Linked DNA regions of Homo sapiens: region 2 is linked to region 1. The links are contacts of gene promoters, found by promoter capture Hi-C in human tissues and cell types (Jung and others, 2019). All regions are on one chromosome and are shown on one strand. The core of a region is centred on a gene start or on the middle of the fragment in contact, and the rest is flanking DNA. Distances in the headings are between cores, read along the strand shown. Region 1 holds the start of PRODH2 (proline dehydrogenase 2). Region 2 holds the start of SYNE4 (spectrin repeat containing nuclear envelope family member 4).

Evidence for each region. The method cuts DNA at HindIII sites, captures the fragments that hold promoters and counts their contacts. A contact is called where the count stands out against the background at its distance.
Region 2: a contact is called between the fragment with the promoter of SYNE4 here and the fragment with the promoter of PRODH2 in region 1, in 2 of the 25 tissues and cell types used here (bladder and thymus).

Annotation. Positions count from the first base shown.
Region 1 is chr19:35,810,932-35,818,174 of GRCh38, reverse strand. PRODH2 (proline dehydrogenase 2) reads left to right here and starts at 5,330. Exons shown (of 10, transcript NM_021232.2): 1 at 5,330-5,543; 2 at 5,619-5,815; 3 at 5,903-6,041; 4 at 6,127-6,213. The coding sequence starts at 5,370. The HindIII fragment of the contact is 15,660 bases long and covers 1-7,243 here.
Region 2 is chr19:36,004,818-36,012,333 of GRCh38, reverse strand. SYNE4 (spectrin repeat containing nuclear envelope family member 4) reads left to right here and starts at 3,521. Exons shown (of 8, transcript NM_001039876.3): 1 at 3,521-3,780; 2 at 3,967-4,117; 3 at 5,066-5,209; 4 at 5,390-5,584; 5 at 5,663-5,911; 6 at 6,897-7,001. The coding sequence starts at 3,653. ALKBH6 (alkB homolog 6) reads left to right here. Exons shown (of 7, transcript NM_032878.5): 4 at 870-930; 5 at 1,289-1,440; 6 at 1,651-1,767; 7 at 2,781-3,214. The coding sequence ends at 3,044. RefSeq lists enhancers at 3,268-3,807, 3,808-4,349. The HindIII fragment of the contact is 19,934 bases long and covers 1-4,392 here.

The sequences.
Region 1 (7,243 bases), core at 4,081-6,580:
TTCACCATTTGGCCGGGCTGGTCTCGAACTCCTGACCTCGTGATCTGCCCGCCTCAGCCTCCCAAAGTGTTGGGATTACAGGTACGAGCCACCACACCCGGCCTCTTTTGTTTTATCTAGCTTAAGATATCTTTGCTTCTTTGTGAATATGTATTTTTCATCAGTTCTGGAAAATTCTCAGCCATTATTTCTTCCAAGATTGCCTCTCTTCTATACTCTCTAATTTCTACCTTTTTTTTTTTTTTTTTTTCTTGAGACGGAGTCTCACTCTGTTGCCCAGGCTGGAGTGCAATAGCGCCATCTCGGCTCACTGTAACTTCCACCTCCCCGGTTCAAGCGATTATCCTGCCTCAGCCTCCTGAGTAGTTGGGATTACAGGCACGCGCCATCACGCCCGGCTAATTTTTGTATTTTTAGTAGAGGCGGAGTTTCACCATGTTGGCCAGGCTGGTCTCAAACTGCTGACCTCAGGTGATCCGCCCGCCTCAGCCTCCCAAAGTGCTGGGATTACAGGCGTGGCCTGGAGGTTTTTGTTTTTAAAGCAGCTCTTAGAACCAGGCCGGCAACCTTTAATATGCAAATGCAGGCCACCCAACTGGGTCCACCCAAACATGGCGATTCCCAAGGCCATGTTTGGGAGGTCGAGGCAGGCGGATTGCCTGAGCTCAGGAGTTCGAGACCAGCCTGGCCAACATGGTGAAACCCCATCTCTACTAAAAGAATACAAAAAATTAGCTGGGCGTGGCGGTGTGCGCCTGTAGTCCCAGCTACTTGGGAGGCAGAGGTGGAGAATCGCTTGAACCCAGGAGGCAGAGGTTGCAGTGAGCCGAGATCGCGCCGTGCATTCCAGCTGGTGACAGAGCAAGACTATGTCTCATTAAAAAAAAAAAAACAAAAAAACTTCGAGGCCGGGCGCGGTGGCTCACACCTGTAATCCCAGAACTTTGGGAGGCCGAGGCGGGCGGATCACAAGGTCAGGAGTTTGAGACCAACCTGGCCAACAATGTGAAATACCTGTCTCTACTTAAAAAAAAAAAAAACACACACACACACACAAATTAGCCGGGCATGGTGGCGTGTGCCTCATGGCCTGCAACTGTAATCACAGCTACTCGGGAGCCTGAGGCAGGAGCATGCTTGAATGCGGGAGGTGGAGGTTTCAGTGAGCCGACATTGTGCACTCCAGCCTGGGCGACAGAGTGAGACCCTGTCTCAAAAAAAAAAAAAAAAAAAAAGGTGGGTCTTATCCAGAATCTGCTTGAATTGATGTGATGCAATCTATAAGTCCCTTGTCCAGCAAATACCAAAGAAATCTATTAAATTAGTTACCCATTCAACAAAAATAAGTCCATTCAACAAAAATAAGTCCTGTGTTAAGCAGTAGGGATAAATTAATGACAAAACCAAATGTGACCCCCCGACCTCATGGTGTTCACAGTCTAGCAGGGGCGTGGGGAGAGAAACTGAGTCTTCACTCACAGACGAATAAACATGACAAGAGCTACAAGGCTGGTGTTAAAATGTGAAAGGGTAAAACTCCCCCTCATCTGGGAGGGGCTGCTCAAGGCAGACCTCCTTGAGGGGGTGTCTTAAACCCTGACACCTGAGGGCAGGTGGGAGTTAATTAGGGAAAGAAGGAAGGGTGGAGTTTTCAGGGAAAAGGAACAGCGGAAATGCAACAGCAGGAAGCTGGGTGTGTTCCAGGGACAGTGAAAAGACAAAGAGGGAGGGAGGACCCCATTTAGAGAGGCTAAGGTGTCCGATTGTAGGGGCCGTGCCTCTTCACCTGGGTGAACATTTGAACCACCAGGGGAGCTTTCAACACCCCAATGCCTACCCAGTAATCACATTTCTGGGGATGAGGCCCTAGGCTGGGCGTGGTGGCTCACGTCTGTAATCCCAGCACGTTGGGAGGCCAAGGTAGGCGGATCATCTGAGGCCAGGAGTTCAAGACCAGCCTGGTTAATATGGTGAAACCCCGCCTCTCCTAAAAGTACAAAAATTAGCCGGGCATGGTAGCAGACACCTGTAATCCCAGCTACTTGGGAGGCTGAGGCAGGAGAATCACTTGAACCTGGGAGGCGGAGGTTGCAGTGAGCAGACATCTGCAGCCTAGGCAACAGAGCAAGATGGAGCCAAAAAAAAAAAGAAAAGAAAAAAAAGGCAGGCCAAGTACAGAGGCTCATGCCTATAAGCTTAGCGTTTGGGAGGCCAAGGTAGGAGGATTGTTTGAGCCTAGGAGTTTGAGGCTGTAGTGAGCCATGATCATGCTGGAGCATTCCAGCCTGGGTGACAGAGTGAGATCCCCCATCACAAAAAAGAAAGGAAAAAAAAATTTTTTTAAATTTAGCTGGGCATAGTGGCATGTGCCTATAGTCCCAGCTACTTGGGAGGCAGAGGTGGGAGGATCACCTGAGCCTGGGAGGTTGAGGCTGCAGTGAGCCGAAATTGTGCCACTGCACTCCAGCCTGGGCAACAGAGTGAGACCCTGTCTCAAAAATGAATAAATAAATAAATACACACATACATACATACATACATACATAAATAAGAAAATAAATAAAAATTTCAAGGCCGGGCGCAGTGTGGCTCACGCCTGTAATCCCAGCAGTTTGGGAAGCCGAGGCGGGTGGATCACGAGGTCAGGAGATTGAGACCATCCTGGCTAACATGGTAAAACCCCGTCTCTACTAAAAATACAAAAAATTAGCCGGGCGTGGTGGTGGGTGCCTGTAGTCCCAGCTACTCGGGAGGCTGAGGCAGGAGAATGGCATGAACTCAGGAGGCGGAGCTTGCAGTGAGCCAAGATTGCGCCACTGCACTCCAGCCTGGGGGACAGAGCAAGACTCCGTCTCAAAAAAAAAAAACTTACAATGTGAGGGCCAGGTGCCGTGGCTCATGCCTGAAATCCCAACACTTTGGGAGGCCCAAGGTGAGAGGACTGCTTGAGTCCAGGGGTTCAAGACCAGCCTAGGCAGCATAGTAAGACTCTGTCTCTACCAAAAAAACAATTAAAAATTACCCTCGGTGTGATCACATGCACCTGTAATCCCAGCTACTTGGGAGGTGGAGGTGGTGGGTGGGGGGATTGCTTGAGCCCAGAAGTTTGAGGCTGCAGTGAGCAGTGATCACCCCACTGCACTCCAGCCTGGAAGACAGAGCAAGACTCTGTCTCAAAAACAAAACAAAAAAAACCTTACAATGTGAACAACTATGAATCATCATCCATGTTAAGACCTAGGACTCCTAGGACCTAGAAGCCACTGCCAGGCACAGTGGCTCACACCTGTAATCCCAGCACTTTGGGAGGCCAAGGCAGGTGGATCATGAGGTCAGGAGTTCAAGACCAGCCTGGCCAAGATGGTGAAACCGTGACTCTACTAAAAACACAAAAGTTAGCCAGGCGCGGTGGCAGACGCCTGTAATCCTAGCTACTCGGGAGGCTGAGGCAGGATAATTGCTTGAACCCGGGGGCAGAGGCTGTAGTGAGCCGAGATCGTGCCACTGCACTCCAGCCTGGGCAACAGAGTAAGACTCTGTCTCAAAAAAAAAAAAAAAAAAAAAAAAAGACCTAGGACTTCACGCCTGTAATCCCAGCATGTTGGGAGGACAAGTAGGGTGGATCACTTGAGGTCAGGAGCTCAAGACCAGCCTGGCCAACATGGTGAAACCCCATATCTACAAAAATACAAAAATTAGCCAGGTGTGGTGGTGGGTGCCTGTAGTCCCAGCTACTCAGGGGGCTAAAGCAGAAGAATCACTTGAACCCGGGAGATGGGGGTTGCAGTGAGCCGAGATCGCACCACTGCACTCCAGCCTGGGTGACAGAGCAAGGATACGTCTAACAAAACAAAACAAAAAAATTAAGACATATGGTTTCCATTTTAAAAAAAGAAAATAGGATATAGAAGTCCCCATATCCCTCTACCCCATTACAATTCCTCCCATCCCCCACAATCAACCACCTCTCTGACTTCTGTGATAATCATGTCCTTACTTTTCTTGTCCTCATAGTTTGACCACCCACGCATGTATTCCCAACATTTTACTGCAGTTTCACTTTCCTTGCTTTTATATTTATTGAAAAGTATAGACCAGCCACAGTGGCTCATGCCTGTAATCCCAGCACTTTGGAAGGCTGAGGCGGGCAGATCACCTGAGGTCGGGAGTTCAAGACCAGTCTGACCAACATGGAGAAACCCTGTCTCTACTAAAAATACAAAATTAGTGGGGCGTGGTGGCACATGCCTGTAATCCCAGCTACTCTGGAAGCTGAGGCAAGAGAATCGCTTGAACCCGGGGGGTGAAGGTTGCAGTGAGCTGAGATTGTGCCATTGCACTCTAGCCTGGGCAACAAGAGTGAAACTGTGTCTCAAAAAAAAAAAAAAAAAAAAAAAAAAAAGAATAATACAGCTTGCCCTGTTTGGTGTCTGGCTTCTTTCACTTGACATTGTGAGATTCAGCCACACAGTTGTGTGTATCAGTATCCATTCTTTTTCATTACTGTATAGTATTCCATTGCATAACTACACCACCATATATGTATCCATTCTCCTTTTGATGGACATTTGGGTAGTTCAGACACTGCTCCTCTGAACATTCTTTCCTGTACATGTTTCCTGCTGTCCATGTTTAAGGTCTCTAGGATATGTACTTAGCATGGAACAGCTGGGTTATATAGGTTATTTGTCTTTTCTTTTTTCTTTTTTTGGCGACAGAGTCTCACTTTGTCACCCAGGGTGGAGTGCAGTGGCACAATCACAGCTCACTGCACCCTTGACCTCCCAGGCTCAAGAGATCCACCTTCCTCGGCCTCCTGAGTAGCTAGGACCACAGGTGTGTGCCACCACACACAGTTAATTTTTGTATTTTTTGTAGAGATGGGGTCTCACTATGTCGCCCAGGGTAGTCTCAAACTCCTCGGTCTTGGCCTCCCAAAGTGTTGGGATTACAAACGTGAGAACCGTATTTTCAAATGTATTCAATAACACTACAGCGTTTCCAATTTTAAGAGGAAGCAATTGCCACAAAAGTGATTAAGTAGCCTGTCCTGGATCACAAAGCCCGGTGTCCTGAGCCCAGGGATCCTTGCTCCGGAGCCCCTGCTTTCCCCAGCACATGGTGGTTACCTAATAAGTGCAGGCTGTTGTGCTGAGCATTCTTGGGGGCTGTTACTGGGGTTCACCTCCCGTTTCCGTTACTCTGAACTCTGTCCCCATTTGTTAATAATTAATTGCCCCCAAGGAGCCTGTGATCCTGAGGCTTTGCCCAGTTAATCAGTCACTGCCCCTGGTCTGGGCAAGGGGCAGTTGGTGAACTTGCTGCCTCCAGAGAACCTTCCCTGGTGTGGAGGCAGCCAGGGACCCAGGATGCTCCGGACCTGTTACGTGCTCTGTTCCCAAGCTGGTCCCCCCTCCAGGGGCTGGCAGTCCCTGAGCTTTGATGGCGGGGCCTTCCACCTTAAGGGCACAGGAGAGCTGACACGGGCCTTGCTGGTTCTCCGGCTGTGTGCCTGGCCCCCACTCGTCACTCACGGGCTGTTGGTGAGCAGTGATCCTGAGGACCAGCCTGGAGGCTCCTCATAGCCTGGCGCTGAGCCCTCGCTCCCTGTCACCCAGCTCCAGGCCTGGTCTCGGCGACTCCTGGGCTCCCGGCTCTCAGGCGCATTTCTCCGAGCATCCGTCTATGGGCAGTTTGTGGCTGGTGAGACAGCAGAGGAGGTGAAGGGCTGCGTGCAGCAGCTGCGGACCCTCAGCCTCCGACCACTGCTGGCAGTGCCCACTGAGGAGGAGCCGGACTCTGCTGCCAAGAGTGGGTGAGTAGGGAGCCAGGGCCCAGGGAGGCTGGGAGGACGCAGGAAGGGGCTTTGCTGTTCGGGCCCTGACACCTGCTGGCTGGGCAGTGAGGCGTGGTATGAGGGGAACCTCGGTGCTATGCTGCGGTGTGTGGACCTGTCACGGGGCCTCCTGGAGCCCCCCAGCCTGGCTGAGGCCAGCCTCATGCAGCTGAAGGTGACGGCGCTGACCAGTACTCGGCTCTGTGTAAGGAGTGCAAAGACGGGGGTGCGGGGAGGGCGCGGCTGCCCATCGGGCTCCCCTCACCACCCCGCCTACCACCCCATTTCAGAAGGAGCTAGCCTCGTGGGTCAGAAGGCCAGGAGCCTCCTTGGAGCTGAGCCCCGAGAGGCTGGCTGAAGCTATGGACTCTGGGCAGGTAAGGATCTCAAGCGGGACTGTCGGGGACAGAGTGCCTTGGACTTAGATGCGGCCACACCGCACGCCAGATGTTCAAAATGCTACGGCCACCTCCAGGCTTGGAACAGCCAGCAGAAGTGCAGCTGTAGCTCCCAGGCATGGTTGAAATGGATGGAATCAGGGTCATCTGGGTTCTCAGGGAGGAGCCTGGAGGCTGGAGGCTCTCAGAGGAGGGATTGGGATAGAAGCTGTTTATCAATTAGAAGGAGGTACATCAGTGTGTTCTCAGTCAACACAGCTGCATGGGTGTGAGCTGGCTGGGTGTAAGTTCTGATTAGGCCAATGGGGTCTTAGTTTGTTCATTCAATCATTAATTCCTTTTTATCTCCACATTCTCTTTCAACCCTACTCCATCTTTTTTTCTTTCTTTCTCTCTCTCTCCTTCCTTCCTCTTCCTCTTTTGCTCTCTCTCCTTCCTTCCTTCTTTTCTTTTTCCTTCTCTCCCCTCCCTCCCTCCCTCCCTTCCTTCCTTCCTTCCTTTATTCCTTCCTTCCTTCCTTCTCTCTCCTCCCTCCTCTCTCTCTCTCTCTCTCTTTCTCTTTGTCTTACTGTATTGCACAGGGTGGTCTCTAACTCATGGCCTCAAGCAATCCCCCAGCCTCAGCCCCCCAAAGTTCTGGGATTATAGGTGTGAGCCACCACACCCAGCCTGCCGTCTTGTATAATGCATATCTTTTTGTTTCTATGATTTTGTTTTGCCAGGTGTATACCATTCGTGGGGGGCATATTTTCCCCAATATTCTATTATAAAAATTTTCAAATATACAGAAAAGTAAAAAGAATTGTACATGAACATCCATGCCCCCGCCACCTTTAACTATACTCACTTTAAATCATATCTATCCCTCTATTCCTCTATCCATCCATCAATCCATCTTATTTTTTGGTGCATTTCAAAGTAAATTGCAGACATGTTTTCCCCCTAAATGCTTCAGGATATGAATAATGGGCTCATTAATTAGAGCCCAATAATTATTCGCAGTACTTTT
Region 2 (7,516 bases), core at 2,272-4,771, 200 kb before region 1:
CATTCTAGATCATTAGGATCTTGGCAGTGGAAGATTTTCAAAGTACTTTCTTTGCTGTGCTGAGATAGCCCAGCTTTGCATACTCCCTCCCCCAGGCAATAGGAACAAGTCGGTTGCAGAACTCAAACTGTCCTCAGAGAGCCCAGGAATCAGGAATTTTTGTTTGTTTGTTTTTTGAGACAATCTTGCTCTGTCGCCCAGGCTGGACTGCAGTGGCGTGATCTCGGTTCACTGTAGCCTCCGCCTCCTGGGTTCAACTGATTCTTGTGTTTCAGTCTCCTGAGTAGCTTGGATTGCAGGCGTGTGACACCACACCGCCTCCCAGGTTCAAGCGATTCTCCTGTCTCATCCTCCCAAGTAGCTGGGATTACAGGTGCATGCCACCATGCCCAGCTAAGTTTTGTATTTTTAGTAGAGACGGGGTTTCCCCATGTTGGCCAGGCTGGTCTCGAGCTCCTGACCTCAAGTGATCTGCCCGCCTCGGCCTCCCAAAGTGCTGGGATTACAGGCATGAGCAACCAGGTTTGGCACGGAATCAGGAAATTAGAATGCAGACTATTTGCTGGGCTGAAAGAGCCCTGTCCAGCCCCAGAACTCTGAGTAGATTGTGAGACCCACAACTCTCAGACCACGGTTGTGCAGCCCTGATTCCTAAATCCTGGTAGACACAGGTGGGCTTTGGGGCCAAAGGCGTTCCCAGGAAAAAAGGCAAACCACAAAATCCTAGGAACCCACCGCCCCAGGGAATGGTCCCACAGACACAGATGACCCATTTCCATCCCGGAGGTAAAGGCCCCTATGTTGGTCTAGGTGGGAGGATCATAGAGGGGTGATCCTGAGAAAGGAGTGACCCCCTTCCCACCTCTTAGGTTTTTAATGCCCCAAAGCCAAAGTGGACCCAGCTCTCTGGGAGAAAGTTACAGAACTGGGGTAAGTATCCCTGGCTGGGGGCAGGAGTGATTCTGGGATGTAGGCTGGGGCAGGGGACTCAGGTCCAATAGACTTAAGACATCAGAGGGTCCCTGACAGCTCAAGGGGCCCCAAGAGCCAGGAGGATTCTGAAGGGGTCAGTGGAGGTCCTGAGGGATTAGGGATTTCCTGATGAGTTGGGAGTATCTGAAAGGGACCTGTGGTCTGGAGAAGTGAGGAAACCTCTGAAGGACCCAGTGGCTATCTCCAAACGGTCAGGGGTCCCTGAGAGGATCAGGGTGCTTCCAGCCACTGTGGAATCCCTAATGGGGGATCTATTGCTATAGGGGGGCCCTCAGGACCCCATTGCCTTCCCCAGGTGGGCTTCCTCATCCCCGAGGGATGGTTCCTGAGCGGCTGCCCCCATGGCTCCAGCGCTACGTGGACAAAGTGTCAAACCTCAGCCTCTTTGGAGGCCTCCCAGCTAACCATGTCCTCGTGAACCAGTATCTGCCTGGGGAGGGCATCATGGTAACCACACACCCTCGGCCCGTGTCCCCCCACTCAGACTTCTGAGCTGTGCTGGGGCAGGGGACTCTGTACCCACCCTCACTCATTAGGCAGCCACATCTCCCAAACAGGCATTCACCTCCCTGTCCCTGGCTTGGGAAGCCCCCCTTTGACCCAGAGGGTGGGGGTTGTGGACTCCTGCCCTGCCCAGCCCTGGTGCCCACTCCCTAGCCCCACGAGGACGGACCACTGTACTACCCGACTGTCAGCACCATCAGCCTGGGCTCCCACACCGTGCTGGACTTCTACGAGCCGCGGCGGCCAGAGGACGATGACCCTACAGAACAGGTGGGCCCCCAGACACTGCCCCAGCTGCTTGTAGGCACTTCAACCTCGCACATCCTCCAAGATGACCTGGTCCCACATGCCTTCGGGGTACTCCTGGCACTCTCCCAGATACCTTCCCTTGTCCCCTCATGGGGTGTACCCACTTCCTCCCAGACACCCAACCCATCTGCTTACAGGGTGTCTGTCCCACATGCCATGATTTTCACAGGCTCCCCGATGCCCCAACCTGCTGAATGGATACCCCTGACTCCCCAGCAGACACTGATATCCTTAGATACCCCACCGCCATTAACTCGGGGGGCCTCACCTCCTCCCAGATGCTCTATCTGCCCCTGCTCAGGGTGCCCCAGACGTCCTGCTACTCCAGGAATGTGATTTGGGGTGCAGGACACCCCCAGATTCTCCTTGACCCCTTGACACAATTTCTCTGAGTGATGCATTTCTAGCACCCCAGTGTTCACAGAAACGCCCCTGAACACGCCGACCCACTCCTTGAGGCTTGCCCTCGAGCCCTGCATGCTCCTGGATGCTCTGACACTCCCTCAGCTGTGCGGTTGTCCTCTAATGTCCTGATGTCCTTGGGAACCCCCACTGCCTCTAACCTCTGCCTCACTCTCTCCTCACCTGGTCCTGGCTTCAGCCATGCTCTCTCAGCCCAGCTCTGCCTGTATTTCCTGGGGACTGCCTATTCCTGGGTCCCAGCCCCAGCCTCAGCCCCTTTGAGATCCCAGCTGCAGCTCCCACCGGCCGCTGACCCTTTGACGCCCCCATCTGCCACCTAGATCCTGCCCCCTCCCGAGGGACGGCAGAGCCCTCGCCCTCCCTTTCCAGCAGCCCCAGCCCAGGCCCCAGCAATTTTCACTCCTGAACCACCAAAGCCTCCATCATTGTGAGCACACTTGCTCTTCAGCTTTTGCCCCTGGGGACTAGCTGATCCCCGGAGGCTACCGACCTCTCGCCCACCCCCACCCCCCGACTTCTTGAGCCCTGCTGACCCTCAACCCGCCCTGCAGCCTCGGCCTCCGCCCCGGCCCACCACCTCGCTACTGCTGGAACCGCGCAGCCTGCTGGTGCTCCGCGGCCCCGCCTACACGCGTCTTCTCCACGGCATCGCCGCCGCCCGCGTAGACGCGCTGGACGCCGCCTCCTCGCCGCCCAATGCGGCAGCCTGCCCGTCGGCGCGGCCGGGAGCCTGCCTGGTGCGCGGCACCCGGGTCTCGCTGACCATCCGCCGCGTGCCCCGCGTGCTGCGCGCCGGCCTCCTGCTGGGCAAGTGACCGCCAGGGCCGGGACCCCTCGGATTCCCAGGTTCCTGCCCCTTTGGGGCTGCTGTGACTCCGCGACCTAGGAACCGTGGGCAAAGGGGGCTCCCCTGGGTTATTTATTTTCCCAATAATTTTGTGTGAGCTACAGAAGACCCCATACCAAATAAACAAAAAAATCTTTCCTTGGTTTTATATTTTTATTTTTTAGGGGCCAGATGCTTGGTTTCCTGAGGGGAGCGGCATCTAGGGTCTTAAATGAATGGGGTAGGCCCTGGAGGTCCGATTTCTGGGTTCCCAGTGGGGCAGAATCCAGGGCTCTTGAGGAGGTGGCGCAGGGGTTCTATCTGGAACCCTCTTGGATGGCGTGGAGTGATGCTGGGAGATTTAGCTACTGGCCTGCTAGGGAGGAAGGAGTTAAGTGACTCTTCTGTCACCTGAGCTGGGCATCAAATGGCCGGGTCCAGGTTCCTCTTGGAAGGGGCGGAGCCAGACCTGTCCTGGGCCTCTCCTGCAGCCTCAGGCCCGGGTGACTCCAGCGGAGGAGCTCTGGGACACCCTTGTCTAGGGAAGAGGTCTTACTGGCTGCCCTCACCTGACTTTGTGTCCCCAGGCCCCCAGCCATGGCCCTGTCCCTGCCTCTGGGCCCTAGACTTGGCTCAGAGCCCCTCAACCACCCACCGGGAGCACCTAGAGAGGCGGACATTGTTGGATGCACCGTCTGCCCCGCGTCCGGAGAGGAGAGCACGAGGTGGGGGCCGGGGCTTTGGAAGCTTGTTCCCAAAAGGGTAGGCGTGGTGGCAGGGGCCATGTGAGGGTAGGAGGTGCCATGGCTGTGATCGCCTGGGGACATAGGAGAGGCCACCAGGGTTGGGGTGACGGTAGGCTGAAAAGTGAGGTGTCGAGACTCACCCAGTCACCGCCCCCTGCCTCCTAGCCCAGAGCAGGCCCAGACCCTGGGACAGGACTCCTTGGGCCCTCCTGAGCACTTCCAGGGTGGGCCAAGGGGCAATGAGCCTGCCGCTCACCCCCCGAGATGGTCAACACCCTCTTCCTACGAGGACCCAGCTGGGGGCAAACACTGTGAGGTGAGCTGAGGTGACCCAGACCCCTTGTGCCAGCCCCACCTCCTCTCTGTCCCCTGGAGTCTGGCCTCCATACTGAGGACCGGGTGATGATTCTGGAAAGGTGTTGGGTGTCTGTAGGGGGAGGGACCTTCTGGAAAAGTGTTTCAATATCTGACCAACTGGGGAGACGTATTTCTTTCTTTCTTTTTTTTTTTGAGATGGAGTCTCTCTGTCACCTAGGCTGGAATGCAGTGGTGAGATCTCTGCTCACTGCAACCTCCGCCTCCCAGGTCCCAGTGATTCTCCTGCCTCAGCCACCCGAGTAGCTGGGATTACAGGCACATGCCACCATACCTGGCTAATTTTTTGTATTTTTAGTAGAGATGGGTTTTCGACTTGTTGGCCAGGCTAGTCTCGAACTCCCGACCTCAGGTGATCCACCCACCTCAGCCTCCCGAAGTGCTGGGATTACAGGCGTGCGTCACCGTGTCCAGCCATATTTCTTTTTTATTAAAAAAAAAAAAGTAGAGATGATGTCTCACCATGTTGCCCAGGCTGGTCTTGAACTCCTGGGCTCAAGTGATCCTCGGGCCTCGGCCTCCCAAAGTGCTGGGATTACAGATGTGAACCACTGCGCCCGGCTGAGAAGCATTTCATCATTGCTCCTGGTGTAGCCCCATTCTTCTTGGGGGGTACCCAGCCCCGCTCCCTGTCCAGACCCCCCAGGCCTCACACATCCAAGTTTCCAGGAGCTTTGAAAACCTGGAGACCTTGAACTAGATATCTGTCCTCAGGCCTGGCTCCACTGGGAAGGCCCCCCCAGTGGGAGCCATCCTGGTGCAGACAGACCCGGAGATGGACTGTGCCACAGAGAAGTTTCCAGAAGCTTACAGAAGAGGGGTGGGGATGGGAGCAGGGGTGATATCTTGATTGGCCCACTGGCCCTGACCTGGCTCCTGTGTTCCCCAGCACCCCATTTCTGGCCTGGAGGTACTAGAGGCTGAGCAGAACAGCCTGCACCTGTGCCTGCTGGGGCTGGGCCGCCGGCTGCAGGACCTGGAGCAAGGCCTGGGGCACTGGGCATTGGCCCAGAGTGGGATGGTGCAGCTGCAGGTAGGCAGGAGAGGCCAGGATGTGGGGGTGGGCACGGCCCCAGCAGTGGGTGCCAGCTTTCCGGGATGGGAAATGGGTTGAGTGCATGTTCCAGGCCTTTGGATAGGAAATGGGGGAGGGGGGTAACTCCAGGTTTTGGGTCCCTGGTGTGTGCGTGGGGTGATGTCCATATGTCCCCAGGCCCTCCAGGTGGACCTACGAGGGGCAGCTGAGCGTGTGGAGGCGCTGCTAGCGTTTGGTGAGGGGCTGGCACAGCGGAGTGAGCCCAGGGCCTGGGCAGCCCTGGAGCAGATCCTGCGGGCCCTGGGAGCTTACCGAGACTCCATCTTCCGGCGGCTCTGGCAGCTGCAGGCCCAGCTGGTCAGCTACAGCCTGGTAGGGCCCATCTTGATACCCCCCACCCAACCCAGGCCCCAACCTCATAGCCTCCATGACCTCTGTCCTTTGACCCAGGTGTTCGAGGAGGCCAACACGCTGGACCAGGACTTGGAGGTCGAGGGAGACTCGGACTGGCCAGGACCTGGTGGGGTCTGGGGGCCCTGGGCACCCAGTAGCCTCCCCACTTCCACAGAGTTGGAGTGGGATCCGGCGGGGGACATTGGGGGCCTTGGGCCCTTGGGACAAAAGACAGCCCGGACACTAGGAGTGCCCTGTGAGCTGTGTGGCCAGAGGGGGCCCCAGGGCAGGGGACAAGGCCTTGAGGTGAGAGCAGACCCCCTTGAGGGACCTTCTGCCAGGCACCCTGGGGACATCTCTGCGCACCTTCTAGCAAGATCCTGCCCTTCCAAGGAGGTGTCAGTGGCTCTGTCTCCCCCTCTATCTCTGTCTCTCGGTGTCTCCTTCTATCTCACTGTTTCTCTCTCTCGTCTGTCTCTGTCTACATCCTCAAGCCCCATCTCAAATTCACTCCTATCCTGAGGCCCCCAGATGATGCCCCACTCACCTCCTGACTGTCCCAGTCTCTCCTGAAGTGCCACCTCTTCAGGGAGGCCTGTCGTGACCTCCAAACATGAGCACTCCTATCTTCTTACTTTATTTCCTAACAGCACTCACCACAGCTTGACTTTGTACATTTACTTATTTTTAAAAATTTTTATTTATTTTTTGAGATGGAGTCTCACTCTGTCACCCAGGCTGGAGTGTAGTGGTGCAATCCTGGCTCACTGCAAACTCTGCCTCCCAGGTTCAAGAGATTCTCCTACCTCGGCCTCCCGAGTAGCTGGGATTACAGGTGTGCACCACCATTCCTGGCTAATTTTTGTATTTTTAGTAGAGATGGGGTTTCATCATGTTGGCCAGGCTAGTCTCGAACGCCTGACCTCAGGTGATCCGCCTGCCTTGGCCTCCCAAAGTGCTGGGATTACAGGCATAAGCCACTGTACCAGGCCTCATTTACTTATTAATTTATGGTCTCTCTCCTGTCAAATATAAGCTCCACGGAGGCCAGGAATTTGCCTATTTCCATCCCCACTGTGTCCTCAGCTCCTAGAACAGTTCCTGGCTTGTAACAGAAACTCATTACACATTTATTGAATGAATGAATAAATAATTCTCTCCTCTCTTGGTTTCTTTGGCTCTGCCTTTGTCTGTCCTGTGAGATCTCTCTGCTCCCCCAGAATCTCATCTCTATGACATCCCTATCCTGGCCCTCCCCCAACCACGTTTTTCTTTGTTGCTGGTTCTCCAGGAAGCAGACACCTCTCACTCCCGACAGGACATGCTGGAGTCTGGCCTCGGCCACCAGAAACGCTTAGCACGTCACCAAAGACACTCCCTGCTCCGGAAGCCTCAGGTGAGCCAGTTCTCAACCAGGTGTAGCACTCAGGAATCTTGATGGCAAGTGACAGAAACCCAAGAAATCAAAAGGCACAAGAAAGGGAATGCTATTAAAAAAAAAAAAAGTAATGGAAAGGTCCAGGCACTGTTGAATTCAGAGCCTGAAGTAATACCAGGGCCAGGCCAGGCGCAGTGGCTCACGCCTGTAATCCCAGCACTTTGGGAGGCTGAGGTGGGTGGATTACCTGAGGTCAGGAGTACGAGACCAGCCTGGCCAAAATGGTGAAACCCCGTCTCTACTAAAACTACAAAAATTAGCCAGGTGTGGTGGCGCATGCCTGTAATCCCAGCTACTCAGGAGGAGAATCGCTTGAGCCCGGGAGGCGGAGGTTGCGGTGAGCCGAGATCCCACCACTGCACTCCAGTCTGAGCAACATAGTGAGACCCCATCTCAACAAAAAAAAAAAAAAAAAAAAAAAAAAGAAAGAAAGAAATAACATCAGGGCTCAGTCCCTCCCTTTCTTGGGCTCT